7 separate regions of the Homo sapiens genome follow, and all the other regions are linked to region 4. Evidence: promoter capture Hi-C in 16 types of primary human blood cells and fetal thymus (Javierre and others, 2016). All regions are on one chromosome and are shown on one strand. The core of a region is centred on a gene start or on the middle of the fragment in contact, and the rest is flanking DNA. Distances in the headings are between cores, read along the strand shown. Region 1 has its middle 2.9 kb from the start of CTSZ. Region 2 overlaps RAE1 (ribonucleic acid export 1). Region 3 overlaps ZBP1 (Z-DNA binding protein 1). Region 4 holds the start of RAB22A (RAB22A, member RAS oncogene family). Region 5 overlaps NELFCD (negative elongation factor complex member C/D). Region 6 has its middle 5.3 kb from the start of SLMO2-ATP5E. Region 7 overlaps RBM38 (RNA binding motif protein 38).

Region 1 (3,170 bases), core at 533-3,032, 700 kb before region 4:
CTGGAATTGCCCACCCCTTTCCAAAAAACTCATGAATGATCCACTCCTTGTTCAGTGTATAATGAAGAAGTAACAGTAACTATAAATAGCTGAGCACCCCGTGCTGCCGCTCTGCCTGTGGAGGAGCTATTCTTTTATTCCTTTGCTTTCTTAATAAACTTGCTTTCACTTTATGGACTTTCCCCGAATTCCTTCTTGCGTGAGGTCCAAGAACCCTCTCTTGGGATCTGGGTTGGGATCCCCTTTCCCATAACACAACCAGGCCAGGATGTGATGCATGGTGGTGCTTGGGGACAGTGGCATGGTGGATTGCAAACCTGGCCCGCCCTATCTGAAGGCCTGCACTGCAGAGATATCTGGGTGTTAGCGAGTGCCTCTGACCCGTTGACCAAGTGGATCAAGAGGAACTCCTGTAGCTGGTGAGGGAACCGTCGTGCCCTGCAAAACCAGCCTAGCCTAGCGAGCATTGTCGGCATCCACCCAAACAAATGCCGGTATCCAGGATGTGGCTAAACTCAGGAATGTGGAATAATAGGAAATGTCTGCAGCTTGCCGGGGTGGAAGCCAGACAATATGGCACAAAGGAAGAAGAAAAAGGATTTCGAGGCCATTCCACAGTCGATGAAAACTCATCTGTGTTCTCCTCCTCCAGGTTGGGAAGGTGGGCCAGCCGTGGCCTGAGTGCTGATCTTTATCAGAATGAGGAGAAAAATCAGCCTTATTTTTAGAAATGAATAGGCTTTTGTGTCTGTGGCCTTGGATCATGTGTTTTCCAGGAGAATTCATGGGGTTAAAAAAAAAAAAAAAAAAAGGGACTGGATTGGAACCTGCCACCCAGGAGCCTCGTGCTGAGCACAGGTCACCTGACATCTCCAGAGGCTCAGTCTTTTCGCCAGTAGAATGGAGTAATAGCATCTGCCTCCCAACCCCCACCCCCACCTCACAGCATTGTGCAAAGGATCAAATGCGGCTGCACAGTCCTCTAGAATGTCATTGGCTCAGCCCTCTGCCCTCAAGCACCACTGGGAGCAGGAATGACTCCATTACCTCCAGGAAGGAAAACCCAGGATAGGTGCCAAGCTTTCCAGGCAAAGTGGTTTCAGGGGAGACGCCTTGCTCTAAATACCTACTCAATTCTGCCCCAAGCTGGAAGGCGGTGGCACACAGCTGCTTATAAAGAGCTGCTAGAAGCAATGCTTAGGCAAGTAGGGCCTCAGAGGTAGGAAGGTCCAAGTGCCCTGCCCCAAGCCTCTTCGGATCCCGGCCCAGATGAGAAGAAGAGTCAGTATCCACAAAACCACCTTGCAGGCACCTGCAGCCAAGTCAGGAGGAAACACCTTTCCGGTTTCCAAGAGTCCCCAAGCTGCTCTGCAGGTGAGTCTGCTTTGAAGAGAGAGACACAGCTCTGGGGCTAAACTCAACCCCCAGCAAGCAGTCCCCAGCAAGAAATGGCTGGGGTGGCCTGTCTATCAGGTTCCCAATGTGCTCCCTCCTCTTTTTCCAGTCCCAGACACCTCCTGGTTTTATCTGTGTGCCCTTCAGAGAACTCCTCCAGCTAAACATCCTTCACTAATAGCAGCACTGGAATTTGAGTTTGGGTGGGTTTGTGGCCATCCCCAACCCCGCCCCCACAAGGAACATGTTTAAGATCTTGCATCGAGTTAAGGGAAAAACAAAAACAACCAACAAAAACCCCAAAACCAAGAAAACCAAAAATCCTATTTAGGATCCTCTGCTGCACGATTTTAGTAACCCCCAAAATGACACAGCCCGCCAGCTTCTCGGAGCAGTCTGGCAGCCAGACATGCATCCACTCGACTAGGGCCAGGTTCAGAGATGAGGAGCCCTGTCTCTGCGTGGTTTGCTGTGTTGGACCCATGAGAAGAGGCTGGAGAGATAAGTCTCATCAGGCCCCCTTCCTTCCTTCTTGGCTTGAAAATGATGATTTCAGACCAGGCGCGGTGGCTCACACCTGTAATCCCAGCACTTTGGGAGGCCGAGGCGGCAGGATCACGGGGTCAGAAGCTCGAGACCAGTCTGGCCAACGTAGTGAAACCCTATCTCTACTAAAAATACAAAAACTTAGCCAGGTGTGATGGTGTGTGCCTGTAATCCCAGCTACTCAGGAGGCTGAGGCAGGAGAATTGCGTGAACCCAGGAGGTGGAGGTTGCAGTGAGCCGATATTGCTCCATTGCACTCCAGCCCAGGTGACAGAGCGAGACTCTGTCTCCAAAAAAAAAAAAAGAAAAGAAAAAGTAAATGATGATTTCAAATGGATAGGCTCCCTCCCTCTCTTCCTGCCCTATTCCATCAGATTCTGATCTTGAATTGCTTCTATGTTAGGGAAACCCAGGGGGCACAAGTTGTCAACTTTGGACGTCCTTTTTGTTACCAGCCTAAAAATATCCTTCCCTTTAACCAACTTTCAATAGGGTAAATCCGGAGAGTCTCCTCTTTGGAACTCCCCAGATAAATTAAGCTTTGTGCCAGCATTTGGGAGCAGGACTGTGAATGTTTATTCCCCTTCCTGACCATCTCACCCCTCCTCCTGACCCCTGTTTGTGAGTTTGATTTGCCAGAGGCTCTGGGCTGAAAGCGGGTGATGTACAGGACTTGTGATGGAGCAGGTGTGGTTGCTGTCATCAGACCCAGCTACATAATTTGCAGGGCCCAGGGCACAGTGAACCTGGAGAGCCCCTCGTTCAGCTCTGCATTACACTTCTGGACTTAGGGCCTCATGTGACTGCAGGGGTCGTGTGCCTGCCTTGCTGACCATGCCTGTCATACCTTCTACATGCGCTGGACCTGCTCGGAGAGTCTCGGGGCATCTTCAGAGCACCCCAGCTCTCCCCATGCTACAGGAAAGAAAAGCTTACACCTTGGGTGCCTTTTCACCCAGATTCAGGGACCAGGGCCCAGGACATCACAGCTCAGGCATCAGAGGCCAAGCACAAGGGGCCCTCCCCTCTCCAGGCTTGTTTCTCATGCTGTAGAATGTGCTGTTGGACTTCACAGTACCTGGATCATAACTATGGGTACCTGGAGGGAGGGGCACGATATCTCTTACCACACAATTTTGTGAGTTCTTAGCTTTTTCTTTAGAAGAAGCCAAAAACCGGCCGCTTTGGTAGATGCCACCTGATGACCTGGCAAGGGCAGCTGTGTCTGG
Region 2 (2,977 bases), core at 339-2,838, 950 kb after region 4:
TGGAACACGAGAAATGGAAGGGAACGTACGTCACTCCAGCAGACATCAAGCACAGGCCCAGTGTGCATCTGCTGGGCTTTTGGAATGGTCTGTCCACTGTCTTGAACTTCCCAGCAGCGAACCTGTAGTAACAAAAAAATTCAATGCAAACAAAGCAATTACGATGTATTGCTTGCATTTAACACCTAAAAACTAATGGGGTACACCTTAACCATACATAGACTTCTCATAGCAACCTAATTATCTAACTTCAAGAACAAAGGAATTAAAATATCTATGAAAGCAACTGTTTTCTTCGCCTAAGCTATTAAAATAAACAAATTCTATTGCTTACACATAAAATTGCAGATAATTTTCTCAATGCATCTATGAGATATGTCTTTTAAAGTAGAATATCACTTACCCATTACCATTCAGAGAATCAAGACCAAAGTAGAAACTTACCTCTTTTCTGAATACTTTATATAATCTCCCCTCCGTTAAAAAAGTAATACATTTTAGAGATTTTGTAAATATGGCAAAAAAATAAAAATCACCCTAATCACACCACAGACAACCACAGCTAATGGTTCTGTGTGCTCTTAGTCTTCTTTCCATGTACGCATATTTTCTGGAAGACACTAGATTATACAGTGTCTTCACTTTTGCAGCTACAGCTTTCCTCACCTGCATCACTAGCCTGTTCAACTTGAAACATCCTTTTTTTAAGCAGCAAATAATCTGAAATCTTTCTAAAAATTACATGTAGAAAGCAAGCTTGCTCAACCTTGACTACCATCCTCCCTCCTGTTCTCCTAACCCCTGCTGCCCCTGTGCTGTAGGCTACAGTTCAAAAGCTTTTCCAAAAACTTACAATGGTATTCCATCATACAAACATACTATACATTGCCATTACTACTGGATATTAAAATTTTCAAAATTTTCACAAGTTCACAGTGCTTTGGCTGTTATAAAGGTTAATTTAGATAATGCAGATGAAGTACATTATCAGATTTCCTACTCAAGTCCCAGAAGGGTATCAGTGAGATAAAGGGTATAAGCTGAAGGATTTTTGATAACTATTGCCAATTATCCTGTGGAAAAGCCAACTTACATACCTACCAGCCATACATGCAGGGTTTCAGCTTATCCTTGCTGGCACTATTATTCTTTTAAACTTTTAATTTTGTTAATTTAATAAAAAAAAGTCTTAAATTTGCATTTATCTGATTACAAGCATGGATGAATGGTTCAGGTTTATTCTTTCTTTTGTGAAGTCCCTCTTTACACCCTTTGCTTATTTTTCTACCAGAGTTTTCTTTCTTTTAGTAAACTGTAATTTTTTTGTCTTTCTTTTTGTACATGATGAGTAAGTATCTAGGCAAATCTGTGCTATTATTTAACGTTGAAAAAGTTTCATACATGCCTGAGGAACACTGTCAGGATGCCAAGAAAGGGAATTTGTTGGTGTGTGCCACTGGGTATAATGTTCACTCTGGATGAATATGATATTTGATTTGGGAATAAACTTCAAGAGACTGAACTAAAGTAGAAAATTTCGAGCAACACATATGATTGTGCTTTCCTAACAAAAACGGGTGTAAGAATAATGTCTGCCATTCAGAAGGGTTCACACCCCCTAAATTGATTTCTCAAAAAAGGCCATAAATAAGTCCAACTGATTCATTTACTTGGGAAACAACGGAGCTAAAGCTAACCTTGGCCATACAAAGAGAGATGATTTCTAGAACACGTATTTAAGGAGCACTTACATCATTAGCCCATGATCCTGCAATAAGAAAGTTCCCCGGCAAGGTTGGTGGGCTAAAAGACAGACAACCAATGCTATCATCAGGAGATGATGTTACTTCAATATCCTGCGGGAAAAAAGTCAATGTTAAAATGTATGCACGCTCACAACTTCATTCCAAATTGTTTTCTTTCTCACTAATTACCTCACGGTGGCCTTTCCTTGTGTACAAGAACTAACTGAATTAGACCTTTCCTTACTTTGATCAAAGACAGGAGTAAAAAATAAGCTAGAGAAAGTACCAGCACCACCAGGACTAGCAGTAGCAGCTGCTAATGAAATGCCCATGGTCTTGTTTTCTAAATGACCAGTTCACTCTGGCCCCACAGTGCTAGATCACAGTTTTCACCTGCCATCCCCTCTCTCCAACCATGGGAATTCTGAGTCAACAGTCCTGGCTGGGCCAGGCCCTGGGAATCTGCACCGGAATCTGCACCTTGGGTGATTCTGGAGACCTGGCAGGCCAGGAAGAACAGGACACAAGTACGGGGACACATTTTCTGTGCTCCAGTGTTTCAGAAACATGAGTTAGACAAAGTTTCAAAGCTTTCAGCCTAAAGGAGGCTCCCAAGTCATCTCGGGTTCTGTCCTTGATGGGAGAAACTCTGCCCAAACTCTTCCTACAAGCCCCAGGAAGCTTTTCGTGGTACCTTCATGGGATTGTGATTGTCTGTAGTTGCACTGCCAAACATGCTGGTCCCACTGGTTCCAAAACCTGAGGTTGTTCCAAACAGGCTCATTTTGAACCTAAAAAGTAATGAAAAATGTTAAGGATGGGTTTTCTCTTAATATCACTGAGAGGCAATGGTAAGATAATTAACTGGCAGAAGAGAAATACTCAAAGTGGCTTGAGGCCAGGCTTCACTTTTCAGACAAGAGCGCAATGAGCAGAGTGCTTTCAAAACATAAACCTTCTATTTTAGAGTAGTTTTAGGTTTCCAGAAATAGTAAAGATAGAATTCCCATACACTCCATATCTAGTTTCCCCTATTATCTCATATTAGTACGGTTCATTTGTTACCATTAATAAACCAGTATGGATACATTGCAGATTATTTTGTAGGCACCAGCTAGAAAATAAATTCACTCATTTTTTACATAGAGACCCTGAGCTGCGCAGCAGGAATATAACAGTAAACAAGATCGCAGGTCCCCGTGCTTTCAGGTTTCCACCTAGTGGGCATTCAC
Region 3 (3,400 bases), core at 834-3,333, 700 kb after region 4:
GGCTCCAGGCTGCAGTCGATGCTAAGGCAATTGGAAGCCATGGGGGGCTTTGAGCAGGAGAGGGGCTGGATGAGATTTTTGCCTCCCATGTGAAAAAAGAATTAGAAGGCGGATTTCCGCTCCTACCCTTTTGGGATCTGGAATAAGGAATCACACCCAGTCCCACCAATGGGTAGAAAACATGGATTCACGGAATCTGGAGGACTGGCCGGCATCCACCCTCCAGTGCCTGAAGGCCCAGGGGATGCATGTCCTGGAAGTCCAGAGGGTCTCCTCACCCCAAGGGCCGTGTCCTTGCTGTCCCAGCAACTGAGGAGACCCTGGCCCCACGTGTCTTCAAACTCTCCCTCCAGGACCCCTGGGAGCCCCATGCACATGTGACACCTGCAGAACGGGGACCAGGAGCGCATTCCTCAGGACTCAGGCCATGAGCATCTGGGAGCATGGACTTCCTTCCAGCAGCAAAGGGAGTCTCTGAGACCTCCAAGGCCACTGGGGACCCTTGGGAGGGCATGTGCCACCAGATGGGGATCCGGCTTAGGACCCCACAGCACAGGCTGTCTGCAGAGCCCTGTGGGTCTCAAGCCAGACCATTGAAGACTTCTCTTTCCGGAAAGAACACAGCACTGTGTTTTTTAAAAATAGCCACACTTCTGGGTGTAGTGGCTCATGCCTGTAATCCCAGCACTTTGGGAGGCCGAGGCAGGTGGATCACGAGGTCAGGAGATCGAGACCATCCTGGCTAACACGGTGAAACCCTCTCTCTACTAAAAAATACAAAAAATTAGCCAGGCATGGTGGCGGGCACATGTAGTCCCAGCTACTCAGGAGGCTGAGGCAGGAGAATGGCGTAAACCTGGGAGGCGGAGCTTGCAGTGAGCCAAGATCATGCCACTGCACTCCAGCCTGGGCGACAGAGCAAGACTCTGTCTCAAAAAAAAAAAATGGTCACACTCCCAGATTTGCCCTGCAACATCCTGACATTCTTCCCTAAGGTTCTAGCAGAAGAGCTGATGACATCTTTGCCCCTTGCCCTGACCCACCCACCTCTCTTTGTCCCCAAGAGACATCAATAGGCATAGCTCAGAGATATTATGGGTGAGTTCCAGAACACCCCAATAAAGCAAGTCATGCAAATTTTTGATTTCCCAGTGCATATACAAGTTATATTCACACGATGCTCTAGTCTATTAGGTGTGCACTGAATCACGTTATATCTAAAAAACAATGTACATACCTTAATTTTAAAATACTTTATTGCTAAAAATGCTAACCATCACCTGTCTTCTGCCAGTCATCATCTCTATGCTGGTGGAGGTCTTGCCTTGATGTTGATGGCTGCTGACTGATCAGGGTGGTGGTTGCTGAAGGTGGAGGCAGCTGTGGCAATTTCTTAAAATAAGGCAACAATGAAGTTCGCTGCAGCAATGAACTCTTCCTTTCATGAAAGCTTTCTCTGTAGCATGCAATGCTGTTTGATGGCATTTTACTCATACTAGAACTTCTTTCAAAATTGGAACCAAGACTCCCCAACCCTGCTGCTGCTTTACCAACTAGGTTTATATAGCAGTCTAAATCCTTTGTTGTCATTTCAAGAATGTTCGCAGTATCTTCACCAGGAATAGATGCCATCTCAAGAAACCACTTTCTTTGCTCATCCATAAGAAGCAACTCATCTGTTCAAGCTTTCTCATGAGATTGCAGCAATTCAGTCCCATCTTCATATTCCACTTCTAATTTGTGTTTTCCTGCTATTTCCACCACATTTGCAGTTGCTGCCTTCACTGAAGTCTTGAACCCCTCAAAGTCATTCATGAAATTTGGAATCAACTTCTTCCAGACTCCTGTGAATGTTGATAGTTTGACCTCCTCCCATGAATCACAAATGTTCTTAACGGCATGTAGATTGGTGATCTTTTCCAGAAGATTTTCAACTTACTTTGCCCAGATCCATCTGAGGAATCACTCTGTGTTGCACTTATGCCCTCATAAAATATATTTATTGAAGAATAAGAAGTGAATGTTGAAGTTACTCCTTAATCCATGGGCTGCAGAATGGATGCTGTGCTAGCAGGCATGAAAACAATGTTAATTCTTTTTTACATCTCCATCAGAGCCCGTGGATGAACAGGTGCATTGTCAACGAGTAGTAAAAAAAAAATTTTTTTTTGGCCCTCAATCCAGGATGCGGAACACTCAGATCCTGTGGTATGGACGATGAGCAGTGAAATGTTCAAAGGAATATTTTGTTTTCTAAGCAGTAAGTCTCAATGCTAGGCTTAAAATATTCAGTAAACCAAGCTATATACAGGTGCTCTCATCTAGCTTTGTTGCTTCATTCATAGAACATAGGCAGAGTCGATTTAGCATCATTCTTAAGGGCCCTAGAATTTCCAAAATGGTAATTGAGGAGAGGCTTCAGCTGAAAGTCACCAGCTACATTAATCTCCAACAAGAGAGCCTGTCCCCTTTGAAGCTTTGAAGCCAGGCATTGACATCTCCTTTCGAGTTATGAAAGTTCTAGATGACATCTTTTTTCAATAGAAGGCTGTTTCATCTACATTAAGAACCTGCTCTGTTGTGTAGTCACGCTCATCAATGATCTTAGCTAGAGCTTCCGGGTAACCTGCTGCAGCTTCTCCATCAGCACTTGCTGCTTCACCTCACACTTGCATGTTATGGGGACGGTTTCTTTCCTTAAACCTCATGAACCAACCTCTGCTCACTTCCAACTATTCTTCTGCAGCTTCCTCACCTCTCTCAGCCTTTAGAATTGAATAGAGCAAGGGCCTTGCCCTAGACGAGGCTTAGGTTTAAGAGATTGTTGTAGCTGGCTCGATCCTCTATCCAGACCACTAAAACTTTCTCCACACTAGCCACAAGGCTGGTTCACTTTCTCATCACTCATGTGTTTGCTGAAGTAAGACTTTTAATATCCTTCAAGACCCTTTCCTTTGCCTTCACAATTTGGCTAACTTTTGACCTAGCTTTCAACTTGTCTTAGCTTTGGACATGCCTCCCTCACCAAGCTTAATCATTTCTCACTTTTGATTTAAAGTGAGAGACGTGCAACTCTTCCTTTCACTTTAGCACATAGAGGCCGTTTGGGGTTATTTATTTATTTATTTATTTATTTTTGAGATGGAGTTTTGCTCTCGTTGTCTAGGCTGGAGTGCAATGGCACAATCTTGGCTCACTGCAACCTCCACCTCCCAGGTTCAAGGGATTCTTTTGCTTCAGCCTCCTGGGTCGCTGTGATTACAGACCTGCACCACCACGCCTGGCTAACTTTGTATTTTTAGTAGAGATGGGGTTTCTCCATGTAGGTCAGGCTGGTCTTGAACTCCCAACCTCAGGTGATCTGCCCACCTCAGCCTCCCAAAGTGTTGGGATTCTAGGT
Region 4 (3,271 bases), core at 310-2,809:
CTGGACTCTTTCAAGTCCTTCCAGAGATGATGCGAACCAGCGACTCAGAATTCAATGACTACAAAGCGCAGGGCCTACACCTGTAACACACTATGTATTTGGAAGGATTTTCAATGCACCTTTAGATGTGTATCAAATAAAAGTCTCTTACCCTATTGTTGGGTTGATGTTTGGATCAAAACTGTCTTCCACAAACCGCCACACAATACTCGATTTACCTACACCTGTATCCTGAAAGAGAACGAGATGAGGGACTGAGAAAAAGTTTACCTTTTGGCAGACACCAAAAACTACTTTGTGGCATAAGTTCAGGATTTTAGAAAAATCACCCTAGACGTGTAAATTTTATAAACGGAGGAACACAAAAGCGGTTGTCATAAAAATTCAGTAGAGTAATTAGGAAATTCCAACTGTACTAAAAGGGAGAGGTTTTTGCCGTTAAGACAGATTAGGACCTTTTGAGAGACCCAAAGTTTCTGCTTCGTGTAAAAAGTAACAAGTCCACTTGCTTTTTAACATATGTTAGTAAACTTTGAACTCCTGAGTTACCTCTGAGTAATCCCTGATGAATCCTAGCCCCACCCTATTTGGGGGAATAAAGATTAGTTATTGGAGTTCCTGCCGATCTTTAAGGCAGAAACTCTGGAATGACAGCATCAATTTCAGAAAGAAGGCTTTGAAATGGCCAACACCTTGTCTTTCCTGACAAGACAGGAAGCTGAAGCTTCAAACTAGTCTTTGGGGCTTCCTGATTTGAACACCCCTTTTCTCCACAGGAAGAGTTACTTGGCAAAGTAACTCTTTGGACAAGTGGCAGGGGTATCCCACAAGTTCAAAAACACCCAAGAGACAAAGTAGGCTAATGCTGCTTGTAAAACCTAAAGACCTGTTATTGGTTTTACTTTGGAAGACTTGGCCAACTCCCAACTAATACCTTGGTAAGTTGGGAGAAAACTATTTAAGAACCTCTCTTAACCCAGATGCAATAGAGAGGCAAGGGGGGGCTGTTTGCTCTTTGTGGGGCGGGAAGAGTCCACGGGCTCCAGGGAGGGGAAGGGGAAGGGTCCCTTCGGCCTCCAGGACCTTTTCGAGAGTGCAAGAGGTGGGCGGGACGGCTCCCGAGCTGGAGGGAGGGTCCACGGGGCTGGCAGACAGCGTCTTGGACGTGGGAGGGGGGAAGGGATGAGGGGACAGGGGGGATCCGGGGTCCCCGCCAGCCCAGCCTCCCGTGGCCCTCCCGGCCGGACCCGCCGCCACTCACCCCGAGCAGACACACTTTGAGCTCCCTCAGCGCCATGGCCCGGGAGCCAGGGGCGCGGGCCCGCCGCCGCCCTAAGTTGAGAAGGGAGAGGCCAGGCCCAGCAAGAGCATCCCCTGGCGCCGCTGCCGCCGCACGGCCCAGCCCCGGTCCGCGCAGAGGCGGCTGCCGCCCGTCCTCCGGCCGTAGGTCCGGCCTGTCCGCTGCCAGCCGCGTGGGGCCCGCCTTAGCAGCCGGGACGCCGCCGCGGCCTTCCGGGAGCCGCCGCCGCCGCCATCTTGGGACGCCGGCCGCGTCACCTGACCTCCCCGCCCACCTCGGCAGCCACCTTCGCTGAGAGGGCGGGGCCGGCCGGCCGGCGCGGATCGGGGGCGGGGCCCGAAGCCGACGGCCCCGCCCCTGTCTGCAGGGCCCCGCCCCTGTCTGCAGGGCCCCGCCCCTGTCTGCAGGGCCCCGCCCCTGTCTGCAGGGCCCCGCCCCTGTCTGCAGGGCCCCGCCCCTGTCTGCAGGGCCCCGCCCCTGTCTGCAGGGCCCCGCCCCTGTCTGCAGGGCCCCGCCCCTGCCGGTCCCGCCTCCATGCCCATCCCAAGATGGCGGGTGAGTGGGGCTGGGCTCGGGGGATGCCAGGGGTGCCCCTCTCTCTCTCGCCCCGTGACCACCCCGCGAGGCCGAGGGGCCCCTGCCCGACCCCGTCCCCTCTCGCCGCAGCCCCCTGGTAACTTCTTGTGTGTTTCTTGGTTTTCAGAGATCCCCCTGTACTTTGTGGACTTGCAGGATGACTTAGACGACTGTAAGTAAGAGTTGGGGCACCCCTGTCCCTCCCTGGGACCCTCTCAAAGAATTCAGAGTGCACGAAGCGCGGGGCGGGGGAACCTCAAGCCAGGCACTCCTTGTCGGGACCAGAACAGCGGGACCCCCAACTGCCTAGATCCACTGGTGGCGGTCCCTCCTCCCTGGGCGGGGCGGGCTGAGGGTGGGAGCCCTTCCCTTCCCTCGGGGGAAGGATTTTTGTTGTTGGGGAAACTTTGGACTCCCTGTCACTTCTTTTCTTCCTGCGCCTGCAGCTGCCGTGGGATGGGCGGAGGGGGTAGTCCCAAGTCCTAGTCGACCCTGGGCGGGCGGGGGGTCCGCCACCTGGGAGGTGGGTGACTTCCCTCTCAGGGCCTTGCCCTTTTCCTAGGGACTTTTTAGGACTGCTGGGGGGTTTGGGAGGTCCCCCTCTCGGTGTGGCCGGTCACGGAGTTGCACGGACTTCTCAAGTGTCCTGGCCACAAGCCCGGCTCCATCTCTTATCCCATGGAGCCCATTGGCCCCCGCATTTCTTGGGTGGGACCCTTGTCCCTTCTTGCCCTCTTTTTTGGAATCATGTTAAGGGCTGGTAGCTGGGGGAGGTGTCATCTTAGAAATCCAAGTTCGCATTTCTGGTGAAGGAAGGAAGCGTTTTCTCTCCTGTCAAGAAACTTACTGAGCAGCTATTTGCTCTGGGGGCCACGTGTTGGGCTCCGAACCTGCAAGGATGTGTTGAAAACAGCTCTACACGCAGGGAGCTCACAGGGTGTGGGGAGAGCCTACTTGTAAACAGAAAATTACCGAGCACCGGAGTGCTTGCTGGTGAAGAAGCCCTATATAAATCATCCAAATAGCTAACATTAATTGGGGGCGTACTGTACGCCAGTCATATACAGTACTTCCTCTCATCTTTCATTCCACATCTTCAGGTTTCCTAATAGTAAGAGTTGGTGTTTACTGAAAACTTACCATGGACCAGACAGCGTTAAACTCTTTTTTTTTTTTTTTTTTTTTTGAGACGTAGTCTTGCTCTGTAGCCCAGGCTGGAGTACAGTGGCACGATCTCGGCTCACTGCAAGCTCCACCTCCTGGGTTCACGCCATTTTCCTGCCTCAGCCTCCCAAGTAGCTGGGACTATAGGCGCCCGCCACCACTCCCGGCTAATTTTTTGTATTTTTAGTAGAGAAGGGGTTTCACTCTGTTAGCCAGGATGGTCTCGATCTC
Region 5 (3,081 bases), core at 1-2,500, 680 kb before region 4:
CATCCGGGTGAAATGGCCATCAGTTTGGAAAAAATCCCTCCCCACCCCCACCGGCCGGTGACACCACCCATCTCCAACATTCAGATGCCCAGGGTGGTAATGGAGGTAAAGTGTGTCATACAGCTGCTGCAGGCAGAAGGTGCTTTTTGGTAAACGAGTATCTGTCATTGTCATCACTACATCAGAAAGCACAGTTCTCAGTTAGGTACAAAATGAACTAAATTAAGCCAAAAAGGGCAGTGCTAGTGTAAACAGTATGAAACATGAAACCAACGGTGCATTGCTGACCTCAGTGACAAAATAGCGAATGAGTGAAATGTCAGTGTCCAGCTTCTCCAGACACTTTCGGATGTAACTGACAACAGGAAGTACATAACCTCGACTCAGCAGGTGAACCATCCTGTCCAGCAGTGTCTTCTTCAACTCAAGCTACAGAAGAAGGGGGACAGGGAGCTGGTTAGAGAGGGTCCTCCTCAGCCCTCTGGCAAGCCCCACGGGCACTGCTCACCTGCTCCATCACGTCCAGCTGGGAGTGCTCAGTCTCAAAAAGCTTAACAAGCAGCTGCAGGACCTGGGGGTGCAGGAGCTGGTGGCAGGTGCTGATCTACAAACAGGCCAGAGGGAGCTTCGCTGAGCAGTGTGGTCACGCTCAGCACACAGAGAAACTGGGCACTGTCACAGCCACCAAAGAGCTTATCACTGTGGAAGAAGGTCCTGACACCTAAGCCAGGGCCATCAGCTTCCAGTAACACTTGACTGAGGTTAAGAAATTTCTGCAGTCAATGAAGCTAGGTCCTTAAGAGGAAAATCCTCAGGACAGAAATAACTATTTTTGAGAAGAGTATCCTCTAAACTCACTGAATAGATGCAATGTTAATGCCAACGTAAACAGCATGAGACAGACACTGTGTAGGCTGTGAACAGCTCTCCGCCCTCTTACCTCATCCAGCAACGCCAGGTGGACAGGGGTATGGTCAGTCTGCAGCTGAAAGTACCTTGGTTCTGATACAGTCCAATCCACCCACTTCAGCACACCCATTGCTACCACTGGAAACCTACAGTTAAGGCAGAATGCTTCCTTTAAAAAACAATTTAAAACACAAAATATGCTAGAAAAGCATTAAAGGAAAGTTAAAAACAAACTCAAATGACTCCATCATTCACCCTTCAATACGCCCCCCAACCCTTTTTTTTTTTTTTTTTTGAGACAGGGTCTCACTCTGTCTTCCAGGCTGGAGTACAATGACACAATCATGGCTCACTGCAGCCTCCCGAGTACCTGGGACTACAGGTGAGTGCCACCATGTCTAGCTAATTTTTTGTAGAGAGAGGGTCCACCATGTTGCTCAGACTGGTCTCAAACTCCTGGGCTCAAACTATTTTCTTGCCTTGGCCTCCCAGATTGCTGGGATTCCAGGCCAGAGCCACTGTGCCTGGCGTAAGCTCTGCTTATTAGTAAATAGTGTGAATGGATCAGCAGCCACTCAACATGCGGTGCAAGAAGCAGAGTTCAATTCTCTGCTCACTTTAAACCACTTATCGAAAGGAAAAGATCATTAATGAGTGATACTCAGTGAGTTTGGTGGACTGGGTTGAAGTTTACCTTTATTTAGCAAACTCTTTCTTCATCCCTAGTATAAATTATTAGGGGAAAGACATGCCTAAGAGGACACACTATTTCTAGGACACGTCTATTTATATGATTGGCATAATCACAAATCATTTCTATGTAAGCAATACTTTGTGGGCATAACTTTACCTATAAATAGACCCTTCAAATCAATTTTTGTTAACTCTGGCTATCTTTTACTTAGCCTAATTTGTACTCAACAGACTTCTGGCAAATAAACATCTGAAAATTACTCATGCTGCTAAAGCTGTTTAAAGTTCCCTACATACTGTTTAAAAATGAAAAAATAAATAAAATGAACAAGTATCGCTGAAGCTTTTGTTATTTGAGCTTTCAATATGAAAACTCAAACGACCTCCTCCCCAAAGGACTGATTTAAGAACTGAGTTTCGTTTTGCTTACCTAATACACTGATAAAGTGTGCTCAATTCTGCCACTAGTTCAGAGGCCCCTTTGTTCTCGTTGCAACACAAATTGTGAACGGTTTCGACAGCTTTTGACGTTGACTTCAGCTCATCTTTATTGATGCTCACTCGCTTGTTCTGAAAACACACACACAAGCTGGTGAGCCTGACAGGGCAGATATCCCTGCTGTCGGGGTGTTCTGGTGTCGGCCACTTCTTGCAAAGCACTTTCCCTATTTCTACTTAAGTTGGGAGTCAATTCAGCTGTCAAACTTCACAGTCACACAGTGTACAGAAACTGAAAAGCAATGAGACTAGTGTTTGTCCATGTCTTACGGAAATCAGTTTCATTTCTTTAGTCACATTTCAATTTACGGTTTGCAGAGCATTGGAGACATTACGCACATTTTCTGGAGACGTTTAGTGCTTTCTCTACGCAGAAACACAAGAAAACACATGCCTGATACTAGGGAGGGTCAAGATTTCTTGCAGCCAAAATTCCAAAATAATATCAAAGCAGAGGAGGATATTTGTCTCCTAAAAAATCCACAAATTCCCAGAACCGATGGTACCTTCTTCCAGGTCTCAACCACGCTTGCTGCGTACGCCAAGATGTGGATGTATTTGTGCTTGTGGTCCTGGTTGATCCGAGCCCCTGGTTTAAAGAGTGACTGCATGAACAGGTCCAGGAAGGCTGGAACGCGGATCTGAGGAGAAGCATATGCCCAGTTCGGGATGGCAGGCGTGAGGGCACTGCTCACCCACCTCCCCTCAGGGTTCCCTACACAGCAGGGGCCCAACAGGCTCCAGGCAGAGAGTGTGACTGAGGAAGGACCAGGACAATGATGGATTTGCATTCACAGCCTTCAGACAATCAGACAAGCACAGACTTTCCAAAGTCACCTTACCAGCTGACATTGGGGATTCTTGAGAAGCAACTTACAAGTTCAACCGGAGGAGGGTCCATGCTTGTGAACATCTTGAACAGGACGGTGATGTCAGCAGGGTTCAGGGCTCCTTTGGACAGCATGGCCCCGAGAGCCTGGC
Region 6 (2,997 bases), core at 2-2,501, 740 kb before region 4:
CTCTCCTCACCGACCTCCCTGTGTAGTCCTAGCTGTTGGAGTTTGAAGAAAGCTGTCATTTCTGGTATGCAATTGGTACCCAATAAGCTCACTGAAAGCAAATCCACTTAAAAGCAACATCAATATTTTACAGTAAATGATGAAAAACAAAAAGTGCAGCTGACACTTTACCCTGAAAAATGAAACATAAAATGATGATACTGACTGGGCGTGGTGGCTCACACCTGTAATCCCAGCACTTTGGGAGGCCGAGGTGGCGGATCACTTGAGGTCAGGAGTTCAAGACCAGCCTGACCAACATGGTGAAAACCCATCTCTACTAAAAATACAAAAAGTAGCCAGGTGTGGTGGCGGGTGCCTGTAATCCCAGCTACTTGAGAGGCTGAGACAGGAGATTTGCTTGAACCCAGGAGGCAGAGGTTGCAGTGAACCTAGATTGTGCCACTGCCCTCCAGCCTGGGCGACAGAGTGAGACTCCATCTCAAAAATAAATAAATAACATAAAATAAAGTAATGATAGTAAGTTTATATATATACACATATATCCATATGTGTATATTTAGTGATATATATAATGATAGATATTTATATGAGATATATATATATACATACATGTGTTAGATTAAAATTGTAACTCTATCAAATTGTTATCACATAGAATGAACCAAGTGCTGGTTTCTGCAATGATTTTCCTCACCAAACTGGAAAATAGCACTGCAAAATATGTTTGAATTTCACAACTCAGTCGCAGAGATGGACATCTTTGCAGAAATATTCAAGGACTCGAATATTTTTCCCAAGGGTCTTTCCCAACTTTTAGCCATTCATATCATTTTCTTTGTGAACCATCCCTTGCCAATTTTGTCTGCTCAAATGTTAACTGCTTTAATTCTACACAAAGTCATCTATTGATGGGTTAGTGTATAATGAAGGAGTTCTTGAATATCATTCTCATCAACTTGATGAAATTCTGCATCTTCTCCAAGAGTTTTGGTTTCACTTTCCAACCACTTGTGTTATTTTTAGCCTTGGACAATCAGTGGGAGACTAACCAGCAATCACATAGGTTCAAGCGATGAGGATCTATGCTGCTGCTTTCATAAGGCACCAAGTTTATATGTACAGATTTGGTTCAGTGGCAAATATTTTCTTGTTATGATGATTCTTGCTTCACTGTGTGGCCACATTTATAGTAAGGACTCAAATGATGAAGAGGTTGATAAGGAGCCATGCTCCCACCCCCATCCTTCTAACACAGAAGTCATCACTTTGGACTTTAAATTGCAGTGTGGACACACACACAACACTTCCACAGTGATGTGTCATAATGAGGGCTGTGTCAAATGCAAACAGGAGCACAGAAGCCGAAACAAGGCACTGTGCTCAGCTAGTGGGGAGAGGCGTATCAGTGAGACACTTGGAGAGTAGAGTATTTGCACAGAATCTCAAGATATGAGTAAGACTTTCCAGGGCAAATCAGAGGAAAGTGCATTCTGGGTGGAGAGAACACCATGTGCAAAGTTCAAGGGTGTGGAAATGCATGGCCTGTAAGGATAGCGAGAGATTTATGTGGCTGTGGGTTCAGCTGAGTTGGAGAATGGGAGGAGAAAACATCAAAGCCAGACAGGTAGACGGGGACAGAGATAAGAGCCTGTTAGATGAACCCCAGGGTTTCAACACTGACGTTGTCAACATTTGGGGCCAGATCCCTCTTTGTTGGGGCAGGGAGTCAGTTGCCAACTTGTGCATTGTAGGATGTTTAGCAGCATCGCTGGCCTCTACCCACAGATGCCAGTGGCACCCTCACCACCAGTTGGGACAACCGAGCATGTCTCCAGACAGTGCCAATGTCCCCTGGGGAATATCGTCCCTAGGGAAATTGTCACCTGCTGCTGTAGTGTGATAGGGATGACCCAGAATAGATGATCAGTTGTTATTTGTGCAATGACTAAATGAAGGGAGCACAGACAAAAAGACTGGAAAGGAGAAGGGACACATTATCATGGCCGGGCATGGTGGCACGCATCTGTAGTTCCAGCTACTCGGGAGGCTGAGGCAGGAGGATCGATTTAGCCCAGGAGGTCAAAGCTGCAGTAAGCCATAATCATGCTGCTGCACTCCAGCCTAGGCAACAGAGCAAAGCTCTGTCTCTAAAATAAAAATGTAAAAACGAGGCCGGGCATGGTGGCTCACGCCTGTAATCCCAGCACTTTGGGAAGCCAAGGCAGGTGGATCACTTGAGGTCAGGAGTTTGAGACCAGCCTGGCCAAGATGGCGAAATCCCATCTCTACTAGAAATACAAAAATTAGCCAGCGGTGGTGCATGCCTGTAATCCCAGCTACTCAAGAGGCTGAGGCAGGGGAATTGTTTGAACCTAGGAGGAGGAGGTTGCAGTGAGCCAAGATCACGCCACTGCACGCCAGCCTGGGAGACAGAGCAAGACTCTGTTGAAAGAAAGGAAGAAAGAAAGAGAGAGAGAAAGAGAGAGGAAGGAAGGAAAGAAGGAAGGAAGGAGGGAGGGAGGGAAGGAGGGAGGGAAAGAGAGAAAGATTCTCAGAGTTAAGAAGATATACGGAAAGGATTCATGAGAATACAAAGAGAAGAAGACAGTTGAAGGAGTTCACAGTGAATTTAGAGATAAAGGTCACTGCTGAGAGATTCAGAGGAAAAGGTGGCTTGGAGTTTGAGGAGAATGGATGAGAGTCCAAAAAGCACCTGGGAAGTTTGGAAGTCAGCACCAAAGTGAGACATGCCCACTTTGTGAGGAGACGAGAAGGTGTTAGGAAGGCCCACGGGGCTCACTGCCTTATTTTAAGAGTCATGTATTTAGCATTTATCAGGGTAAAAATACTGGTTTTCTAATGAAAGTAGTTATATAAAGTTTCCTTTCAAGTGTATTTGTAAGGAAGCTGATTCTGACAAAAACACATGGTTTTTCCTACTACTAGACTCTCAACACACATACGTTCCGACATAGATGTGTGGGAGTTCTCTCC
Region 7 (2,967 bases), core at 42-2,541, 900 kb after region 4:
GAGATGTTTTCAAGGCCTCAGGGCCTTCCCGAAGGCCTGTCCCAGAGGCTGTCACCAGCTGATAGTGACAGGAAACTTGCAGGCTGCGAGTGGCCTTCACGATAACCCTGGCAGTACCCGTAGCCCCCCTCCGTGGATCCCCAAGTTCTTATCAGCTGCAGCAAGTCTCCTCCTCCGGGCTGAAAGCCCCATGCTGCCCTCCCTGACCCCTCACAAGCGTTTGCAAACTGAGACAGTGGGAGGGAGGGGCCAGCCGGCAGGGCCTGGGAAGAAGTGCAGACCCCCACAGAATCCCTATCCCCTCCCTGCCGTAAACCTGTCAGTCTCCATCACCCTGGGGCATTGTTGTGTCTCCCCCAGCAGATGATAAACCCAAAGGGCAGCCCTGTCTGCTCTATCCCCAGCGCTTTGCGTGTGACCCAGCACACGTCTCGGGATGACACAGTGAGTGAGCAATTCAAGGAAGGAGTTGATGGATTCTCCAGCCCTGACACCTCCTCTATGAAGGCCTTGTGATTTCCCCAGCTCTGAGTTCCAGATGCTGGGACTATCCAGCCCCAGACCAAGGCTTCCCTCCCAACTCTACCCTAAGGGCAGCTGTCCTGGACACCTGCCAACGTCCTCTCAGGAACCCACATTCAGGGTCTTCTGGTGGCAACCCCCCTTCTCTGGGGGAACTGTCCTCCTATTCCACAGGGATCTGGTGGGGCTGCCAATCACAATCCACGTCCAGGCCCCTCCCCAGCCACAGCGCCAAGAAGTAACCCAAGCGCAGTCCTCTCCGGGTCTGAAGCTGATGCTGGATGATGCACGGCGGCTGGGACGCCAGGCCTCCCCTGCATTAGCGGGTGTGAAGAGGGGCTGCGTCTGTTCTGCTACTGAGGCTCAGCGGCCGGTGCAGGCCAGGCGCTCTATGCACGGCTGCCAGTGAAATCCTGGGTTCCTGAGCCAGGAGGGCGGGGCATGGGTGATGCCCACAGGCACGAGGGGAGCTCTGCGTTTTGAGAAAAATTAGATCAACTTTTTCTTTAAAGAAAACAAGTTTTATTTTTATCATCAGAACATTCTAATAAAAATATTATGATGAGATTAGCTACCTTTATTCTCTGAGCCTTGACTCTGTCCCAGGCCTGCCCTGGAGCGCCTGCACGCTCAGCTCCCTGAGGTAGGTCCGGAGGGAGACCCCCCGCTGCCCCCCGCCCTCGGCCAGGATACCTCTCACCTCATGTCCCCTCCTCCAGACCCCCACAGCCCTGGATGCCCCATAGCAGCCCTGCCACGGCTGGCAGAACTGCCTCCACCCTCCACCAACCCCCAAGACAGGCAGGAACCGTCTCAGGCTGGCACACAGCAGGTGGTGCGGGGGTAGAGGGAAGAGGCGCACCCTTCTGCACTCAACCGCTCCAGCGGGCAGAGCTGAGGGCCACTGCCCCCCCCAGGCTGGCACCACCATGGTCTAGACCCCAAGTGGCCTGAATGCTGTGGATCACTTCCTTCTCCCCTTCCACAGTGTTTGGGGAGTTGGGGAGGAAGGGAAGGGAGAGGAGTGTCAACGTCGCAGTGACGGGGTCCTGAGACAACTCACTCTGCCACCCCGGCAGGCGGCAGCAGACAGTGGCCCGCACGGGCCTGAGGGGCCTCCTGTCTGTGGTGCCCATCCCACCGAGAGGATCCTGGCCCGCGAGCCGGCAGACACTTTATTATACAGAAACACTATCGTCGTCTCCACGGGCGGAACCAACAAAAGCAAGTCTCTCCAAGTCAAAAATAGGTTTTGGATTCTTGGTGGCGGCAGTATCCGCTGAAAAAATAGACTGAACTTCTGAAATTATCTTAGTAGCAAAACAATTACAAGAAAAAAGTTGCAACTTCAGTGCTATGACTGGAAAGGGGCCTTTGGCCGGCGGCCCCTGTTACCGGCGGCCCCTGTGCGCCTGGGAGCTCCTCCGGGCTTGAGGAAGCCGCCCACGTGCCCTGATGGAGAAAATGGGACTCCAACAGGAGGCCGTGTCCTCACACCTCAGACTGCGCTCACAGCTCGGGAGGATCAAGTTACAATAAACAGTCCATTAACTTCTTGCTTTCAGGTTTCCCTGGAGTCAGGCATCTCTGCACAGTCCAGGGCAGCCAGGGGCTGCAGAGGGTCTGTGACACCCCGCCACGATGCAGCAGTGGGGACACAAGCCTGAGGGAACCTGGAGTGTGGAGAGGCAGGAGAAGGTGCAAGGAGAGGCTGCCATGGTGTGCAAGGAACCTGGGATTGCGTCTTTAAATAGTTCTCAGTCATTCTTAAAGTCCTCCCTCAAGACACAATGGGACCTAGATTAAAGAGAAGCCGTCTCTCCGCTGTCCCAGGGCGCAGGCGGAATGCCCGAGCGGTCTTCGGAGGCACGGGTGCTGGTGGCACCTCACTGAAGCTCAGCCGGGCTGTCGCCAGCCCATCATGGCCTGGCAGCTCTGTCTGCTGTGAAGGTGACAATGCCACAGTCCTCGGGGCAGGAACGCCCCTCACTGCATCCTGTCAGGCTGCAGCTGCGGCGCCTGGTACTGCACGAAAGTGGTGCCCGCGGGTGCTGCGGCTGAGAGGGCCTGGGGCACGGCGGCAGGGTAGCTGTAGCCCACGAAGCTGGCAGCCGTGGCAGGCGAGGCGGCGTATGGGTACTGGTCATAGGTGGCCGGTGGGTACTGGGCGTAGGCCGGGCTGGCCGGCGTGTACTCAATGTAGGGCGAGGACAGCGACGGGACAGGGGCGGCTGGGATCACCACGCTGGGCTGCACGATGGCTGGTGGGTAGATGTAGTGCGGGGTCAGCCTGTGGGGCCAAGCAGAGCAGGTTAGGGCCAGAACGGAGTTGGGGAATACAGCTGGGAGAACAGTGGGGTACACGATGCGTGCCGCCCCCCACCCCGAGCCCCGACTTTCCTCATCGGTCAGATGGGCACAGAAACAGCACCTGGCCAGATGCTG

The links. Contacts are between HindIII fragments. The CHiCAGO score rates a contact against its expected background, and 5 or more counts as called.
Region 1: a fragment that was not itself captured here is called in contact with the fragment with the promoter of RAB22A in region 4 in 1 of 17 cell types (neutrophils); the score reaches 5.8 in neutrophils.
Region 2: a contact is called between a fragment that was not itself captured here and the fragment with the promoter of RAB22A in region 4, in 1 of 17 cell types (monocytes). The highest score is 5.5, in monocytes.
Region 3: a fragment that was not itself captured here is called in contact with the fragment with the promoter of RAB22A in region 4 in 1 of 17 cell types (total CD8 T cells); the score reaches 6.0 in total CD8 T cells.
Region 5: a contact is called between a fragment that was not itself captured here and the fragment with the promoter of RAB22A in region 4, in 1 of 17 cell types (neutrophils). The highest score is 6.5, in neutrophils.
Region 6: a contact is called between a fragment that was not itself captured here and the fragment with the promoter of RAB22A in region 4, in 1 of 17 cell types (neutrophils). The highest score is 6.0, in neutrophils.
Region 7: a fragment that was not itself captured here is called in contact with the fragment with the promoter of RAB22A in region 4 in 1 of 17 cell types (neutrophils); the score reaches 5.7 in neutrophils.

What each region holds. Positions count from the first base shown.
Region 1 is chr20:59,008,607-59,011,776 of GRCh38, reverse strand. No RefSeq gene overlaps it. Among named protein-coding and RNA genes, the nearest start is that of CTSZ, 2.9 kb to the right of the region's middle. The HindIII fragment of the contact is 1,400 bases long and covers 1,083-2,482 here.
Region 2 is chr20:57,353,591-57,356,567 of GRCh38, reverse strand. It overlaps RAE1 (ribonucleic acid export 1), which reads right to left. Exons shown (of 12, transcript NM_003610.4): 2 at 2,440-2,536; 3 at 1,752-1,856; 4 at 30-122. The coding sequence starts at 2,529. Among named protein-coding and RNA genes, the nearest start is that of RAE1, 3.8 kb to the right of the region's middle. The HindIII fragment of the contact is 1,499 bases long and covers 839-2,337 here.
Region 3 is chr20:57,605,673-57,609,072 of GRCh38, reverse strand. All of the region lies in intron 7 of ZBP1 (Z-DNA binding protein 1), which reads left to right. Among named protein-coding and RNA genes, the nearest start is that of ZBP1, 13 kb to the left of the region's middle. The HindIII fragment of the contact is 791 bases long and covers 1,688-2,478 here.
Region 4 is chr20:58,308,003-58,311,273 of GRCh38, reverse strand. RAB22A (RAB22A, member RAS oncogene family) reads right to left here and starts at 1,559. Exons shown (of 7, transcript NM_020673.3): 1 at 1,262-1,559; 2 at 152-231. The coding sequence starts at 1,297. It also overlaps the pseudogene PPP4R1L. RefSeq lists silencers at 1,161-1,490, 1,531-2,090. The HindIII fragment of the contact is 7,008 bases long and covers 727-3,271 here.
Region 5 is chr20:58,990,972-58,994,052 of GRCh38, reverse strand. It overlaps NELFCD (negative elongation factor complex member C/D), which reads right to left. Exons shown (of 15, transcript NM_198976.4): 8 at 2,978-3,081; 9 at 2,607-2,741; 10 at 2,033-2,172; 11 at 941-1,055; 12 at 509-604; 13 at 289-429. Among named protein-coding and RNA genes, the nearest start is that of NELFCD, 11 kb to the right of the region's middle. The HindIII fragment of the contact is 1,395 bases long and covers 553-1,947 here.
Region 6 is chr20:59,046,600-59,049,596 of GRCh38, reverse strand. No RefSeq gene overlaps it. Among named protein-coding and RNA genes, the nearest start is that of SLMO2-ATP5E, 5.3 kb to the right of the region's middle. The HindIII fragment of the contact is 8,431 bases long and covers 1-2,997 here.
Region 7 is chr20:57,407,388-57,410,354 of GRCh38, reverse strand. RBM38 (RNA binding motif protein 38) reads right to left here. Exons shown (of 4, transcript NM_017495.6): 4 at 1,022-2,812. The coding sequence ends at 2,509. Among named protein-coding and RNA genes, the nearest start is that of RBM38-AS1, 16 kb to the right of the region's middle. RefSeq lists a silencer at 41-210 and enhancers at 556-715, 883-1,388. The HindIII fragment of the contact is 9,296 bases long and covers 1-2,967 here.